Linked DNA regions of Homo sapiens: region 1 is linked to region 2. The links are contacts of gene promoters, found by promoter capture Hi-C in human tissues and cell types (Jung and others, 2019). All regions are on one chromosome and are shown on one strand. Each heading gives the region's core, a stretch centred on a gene start or on the middle of the fragment in contact. The rest is flanking DNA. Distances are from core to core; before and after follow the strand shown. Region 1 overlaps H3-3B (H3.3 histone B). Region 2 holds the start of NT5C (5', 3'-nucleotidase, cytosolic).

What was found. Contacts are between HindIII fragments. The study calls those that stand out against the background at their distance.
Region 1: a contact is called between a fragment that was not itself captured here and the fragment with the promoter of NT5C in region 2, in 1 of the 25 tissues and cell types used here (dorsolateral prefrontal cortex).

Annotation. Positions count from the first base shown.
Region 1 is chr17:75,776,125-75,779,164 of GRCh38, forward strand. H3-3B (H3.3 histone B) reads right to left here. Exons shown (of 4, transcript NM_005324.5): 2 at 2,923-3,040; 3 at 2,686-2,839; 4 at 310-2,599. The coding sequence ends at 2,471. Among named protein-coding and RNA genes, the nearest start is that of H3-3B, 2.1 kb to the right of the region's middle. RefSeq lists silencers at 1-44, 2,976-3,040 and enhancers at 375-464, 2,743-3,040. The HindIII fragment of the contact is 5,666 bases long and covers 1-3,040 here.
Region 2 is chr17:75,130,469-75,133,409 of GRCh38, forward strand. NT5C (5', 3'-nucleotidase, cytosolic) reads right to left here and starts at 1,274. Exons shown (of 5, transcript NM_014595.3): 1 at 1,066-1,274; 2 at 713-813; 3 at 577-637; 4 at 285-399; 5 at 1-174. The coding sequence starts at 1,239. The coding sequence ends at 20. RefSeq lists an enhancer at 167-256 and silencers at 293-497, 867-1,436. The HindIII fragment of the contact is 10,965 bases long and covers 1-2,941 here.

The DNA.
Region 1 (3,040 bases), core at 538-3,037, 650 kb after region 2:
GAGGCAGGAGAATCACTGGAACCTGAGAGGCGGGGGTTGCAGTGAGCCAAGATCGCGCCACTGTACTCCAGCCTGGTGACAGAGCAAGACTCCGTCTCAAAATAAATAAATACACCACTTCAGCAGGCACAGACTGGCACTGTCCTGGGCCAACTGTCACTGAGGTCACCTCAATAGGGAGCTTCCTTATTATTGAATGCGCACGTCCCAGCCCCAGATGAATCAGAAGTCAGTGCTTTTTGGACATTGCCCCAAACTTTTTGAAAGACATTATCATTTGAATGAAAACCATTGAGAAATGAGAAAATCTTAACTTCAAAAATTTTATTTTAGTCTCATCCATCAAGGGCATAGGATACCTGCATCAGCTGCAACTTCTGCTTTTCTCCTTTGCCTCTGCTCCTTTACCCTTACCGAGGGATATCCCATACAGGAAGCCGCCTACAACCAAAAGCTATCTTCGCCTTCTGGGTTGAGTGCTCAAGCCAAGTGTGGAAATGCAAGTCACTGCTTCGGCAGATTGCAAGCTGCCCAATATAATCTAAGAGCCTTCTATGCCAGCCTGCAGACTGGAGAAGGTTCACTAGTGTCACCCACTTGGGTTGTCACAGGTAGTAAGCAGAAGCTAACTCATCACCGTAGCCAGGTTTGTGTACTTTGTTTCCAGACACGCTACAGCATAGCACGTTCCAACATCTGATCTTAATCTCATTCTGAAGCACAGTGAGGAATCAAGTGTGCTTGTTCCAGAGCTGATTATGAACTTTCTAGAAAAGCGGGTCATTATATTGCATCCTTTCATAGGAGCTCATTATCACGACCTGAAAGATACCTACTTTACCTTCCCTCCAAAATATCACATTTGAAACTAACCCAAACTTTTGAGAAAGCAATTTTAATGGGGTATAACTTTAAGCAGTTGCTAACTTCAAACGTGGAACGCTTTGATGACTGCTGGCTCTCATGCTGTCTCACTGACATCCACGTACTATGCTTTAGTGGCCATCATCGCACAAGGAAACTGGTTTCATACTGAAGTTTAAGACTGAGTTCTACACCTGTGGGCTTCTACACTACGGAACGGGAGTGGGGGGGCTGAAAAGCTTATTAATATACTTTGTCTTAGCCCACACTGCAAATACAGCACTATTATGGCATCTTAATCAAGCAGAGAGCTGTTCACATGCTTTCTACAGTATCTTTATAAATAAAAGGTTCCTTTATCCACCAAACAACACCTGAAATGATCTAAGTTCAAAACATTAGTATACAAGGACCTAGATAATGGGACATGTGAAAACTTAGTACATTCAATTTAGGTTTTGGACACTTAGTTGGATAAACAAGTTTATTTGTAAATTTAGTCAACATACATAATTGACCTAAAAACTTCAGTAAATTTTAAAACCACTTGGAAGGCCATCTCTATAAAAATGATTTTCCCAGGACAGTAACCAGATGTAACCTAACCCAACACCATCTTAATTGGCAGAGGTTCAGTGGGCTGGAGTTTTGTGCTCCTCCCCCACACCAAGTTTTTATAATACAAATGCCACAAGAAAAAGAACTTCGGTACTGTTTCCTCAGCAGAGGAGAAAAACTCAACCTAGTTATGAGACCAACCACACAACACAATGAAAAGCTGCACTAACTAGTTCAGAATGTTAGTTAAGATGATGCTGGTGTGAATAACTCGTTTTTTCTAGAGCCCTTATAAATAAAATCCCCCAGTTAGTGTTTGCATTATCAGCTAGAGGGTTAACATGTGGTAGAATGAGGACTTATGCAAGGTATAAATGCGCATAGCATTTTACTACTATGAGAACAAGTGCAGTCAGAAGAAAACCAACTGGACTCTAAATTACACACACCTTAATGACAAGACTCCCCACCACTTGTGAATGTAAAACATTTAATTTAAAAATGTTGATACTACAATATATAAAATAGCTATTATAAATGCACATAGTGTATTCTATAGCTGCCAGGTTTACTTTTTTTTTTTTTAAAGGAAACTGTAAGTTACACTGTGGTTAAGACTTGTATCTTCACCCTTGAAAAAGCCCACATTCTATCACAGTGATGTATGGTCAGACTTAACAGCCCCAATTGTTAAACACTTGGATCAAGTCATAACCAGTTTTATTGCAAAAGGACCCTGTACACATTTATCAACTCTAGTACCTTAATAGCTACCCAACAAGTCATTAACATACAGAAACATGCATCATGAGAAGCAAGAAGTATCACCCATCCCTTCTGCATATTAGCAACTTGTCACTCCTGAGCAACAGTGCTCACATCACTGAGGTCTGTGAACAGTCACTTTTCGCATTCATCCTGAGTGAAAGATGGAATGACTTAAGTACAAATGCAACATATTATAAACAATTTCTTACAAAAAAAGTCACAAATTAAACCAAAGTATTTTACAGAATTTACTACAAAACGCCATAAAAACTGCCTTCACTTAAGCTCTCTCTCCCCGTATCCGGCGAGCCAACTGGATGTCTTTGGGCATGATGGTGACTCTCTTAGCGTGGATGGCACACAGGTTGGTATCTTCGAACAGACCCACCAGGTACGCTTCGCTAGCCTCCTGTTGAGGACGAGAGCCGCACTATTAATCCCACTCGGGGAGCGGAAACCGCCCAGCCCTCCCCCGGCTCCAGGCCTTTGTCTTACCTGCAGCGCACCGATGGCTGCGCTCTGAAACCTCAGGTCGGTTTTGAAATCCTGCGCGATCTCCCTCACCAACCTCTGGAAGGGCAGCTTCCGGATGAGCAGCTCGGTCGACTTCTGATAACGACGAATCTCTCGAAGCGCCACGGTCCCGGGCCTGCAGCGAGCAGGGGAGGAGTGAGCGGACGCTGCCGCACAAAGCCGGCCACCGCCGGGCCATTGTTCCCCCGCCCGACCTACCTGTAGCGATGAGGCTTCTTCACCCCGCCGGTAGAGGGAGCGCTTTTCCTGGCGGCTTTCGTGGCCAGCTGTTTGCGGGGGGCTTTCCCACCGGTGGACTTACGAGCAGTCTGCTTGG
Region 2 (2,941 bases), core at 24-2,523:
CTGCCCGCGGCATCCCCGCTCATTCCCGCTGCGCAGCTCCGCGCTTGCTATCTAAGATCTCCCTCCAGTTGTCACTCCAGGAGAGCAGCCGTCTCCTTGTCGGGGGCAGGACCAGGTGCCGATTGTGGCAGCAGGTGAACAAGATGTGCTCCCAGCTTGGGGTCTCCTCCTGGCCTAGGACAGTGAAAGACAGCGCGCTGCCATCTGTCATGGGTATTATTACTCCCTCTCCCTAATCCGGGCAGGCCAGAGGCCTGGAGGCTGCCAAGGATAACGGGTCCAACCTCGAACTGTGTCCTTGTCATCAATGAGCAGGTCCCCCAAGACCACCGTCTTGTCCCTTGTCAGGATAATTCGTTCTACGAACTGGGGCCCCAGGTGCTGCTCCACCCAGCGGTACTGTGTAGAAAACACAGTCTGTGAGTAGGGCCTGATGGAAGCCGGAATTCAGGGATAGGGACTTGGCTCTAAGCCCTTGAGAGCCCCCCACCCCCACCTTCTGGGTTTCTGGTGGTTTCTTTTTAAAATCAGGATTTAGGCAGCTCCACGTGCGGAGTAGGGGCGGGGCAGCCACACCTTCTCACCCACACAGTGGTGGTACTTCAGCAGGGGGCTGGTGCAGATGAAGACCTGCGTGCTGCGGAGAAGGACGCGGTTACCGCCGGGAGCCAGGAGCCCGCCCAGGACTCCGCCCGCCCCCCTCTCTCCTTACTCCGGTAGGTCGTTCATCTCCCGCACAGCGTCCAAGGCTCCCGGGATGGGCTCCAGGTCCAGGAAAAAGCCCGGGGCTTCGTACACACTGGCCACTTTATCCTGAAAGACAAGAGTTCTGGGTCCCGGCTTCCCGTTCCCGCGAGGACCCGCAGGGAGGCTCCTGGGGGCTCCGGGCCCGAGCTCAGAGGGGCGGAGGGGGCGTCGGTCAGGGGCACGCGCCCAAAGGCTCCTCCCCAGGGTGCGCTGCCCGCGGGTTCCAGGGTGAGAGCTCTGCGCCCTTCACAGAGAAGGGGGAGACCCCCGGAACGGAGCGAGCGGGCCCTGCCCGGGTGGGGACCCTGCGCCCCCTACCGCCAGGTCGGGCCGCAGGGCGCGGTACTGCTCGCGGGCCAGGAAGCCGCGGCGTTGCTCCAGCGGCACGTGCGGCTCCTCAGGGAAGCGGCGGCGGAAGCCCCGCAGGAGGCCGGCCTCGAAGTCGGCCAGGACGCCGTCCATGTCCACCAGCACGCGCACGCTCCGCGCCATCGCCGCCGGGCCGGAGCTGCGAGCTCTCGGGGTCTGGGGGGCGCGGGCTCGGCCGGAAGCGGAGGGAGCGCTGCTTCCGGAGTCCGCCGGGCTGATTTGCATAGAGTGTCCGGGCCGCCCCGCCCAGGTCGTAAACCAGTGCCGACGGCCCTGCGGTTGCGCGAGGCCATCCTAGGGTTCGGGTGCAGGGACGGCTTTGGGGGGCACTTTTCTGACCCTGCGCTTCTTCGGGACCCAGCCTTTGTCCCCATCAGCCGCCTCCCACTTTACGGCAGACGTACCCCCGTTCACCCCACGTTACTAGTAGGGGACCGACCTTCCGGGGGCCCAACAAAGGGATGCTCTGAAATACTGGGAAGCATCTAACGAGGAGTCAAGGGTCCTAAACCCGTGGGGCTAGCTCCACATTTTTTTTCTTTTTTTCTTTTTTTTTTTTTTTATTTTGAGACGGAGTCTGGCTCTGTCGCCCAGGCTGCGGCGCAGTGGCGGCGCGATCTCGGCTCACTGCAGCCTCCGCTTCCCGGGTTCAACCGATTCTCTTGCTTCAGCCTCCCGAGTAGCTGGGATTACAGGCACCCGCCACCACGCCTGGCTAATTTTTGTAGTTTTAGTAGAGACGGGGTTTCGCCATGTTGGTCAGGCTGGTTTCAAACTCCTGACCTCAAGTGATCTGCCTGCCTTGGCCTCCCAAAGTGTTGGGATTATAGGCTTGAGCCACCGCACCTGGCCAAAGTCTTATTACCGCAGTACCGTGGTCTCAGTGGATTGCTTTCGTCTGTGCAGTGGAGCAGGAACAATCCCTCGAGGACTACAAAGTGAAATGAATCTGTTAACTGGTTTGTGTAAGTCTAGCTCGTTAAGAGACTAATTCACACTAGAGTTGGCTTGAAACATGGGAGCTTCAAGTGTGGTTTCCCCCGGAAAGATGATTTTGATCAAGCACAGGTAATCAGGACTGTCCTCAGGACTTTATGTGGAACTGACATCGCTTACCTACTCCCGTCTAGAAAATGCTGAACAGGGCCAGGTGCGGTGGCTCACGCCTATAATCCCAGCACTTTGGGAGGCCGTGGCGGGCGGATCATCTGAGGTCGGGAGTTCAAGACCAGCCTGACCAACATGGAGAAATCCTGTCGCTACTAAAAATACAAAATTAGCGTGGTGGCACATGCTTGTAATCCCAGCTACCCGGGAGGCTGAGGCAGGAGAATCTCTTGAATCCAGGAGGCAGAGGTTGCGGTGAGCCGAGATCATGCCATTGCCCTCCAGCCTGGGCAGCAAGAACAAAACTCCTTCTCAAAAAAAAAAAAAAAAAAAAAGAACATGCTGAACTGTGATACATTTTGTTGACTCTTCTTTTTGTGGATGTCATGAAACTTCCTGACTCCACTCAAATCTATTTGCCTACAAACTATAAAGCCAGGCGCCGTGGCTCAGGCTGGTAATCCCAGCACTTTGGGAGGCCCAGGTGGGAGACAGCTTGAGCCCAGGAGTTCAAGACCAGCCTGAGCAACACAGGGAGACCCTGTCTCTACAATAAACAAATCAATAAGCTGGGTATGGTGGCGCATGCCTGTGGTCCTAGCTACTCATGAGCCTTAGGTGGGAGGAACCCTTGAGCCCAGGAAATTGAGGCTACACAGCCTTCATCCTGCCACTGCACTCCAGCCTGGGTGACAGAGGGAGTCCCTGTTGGGGGAGG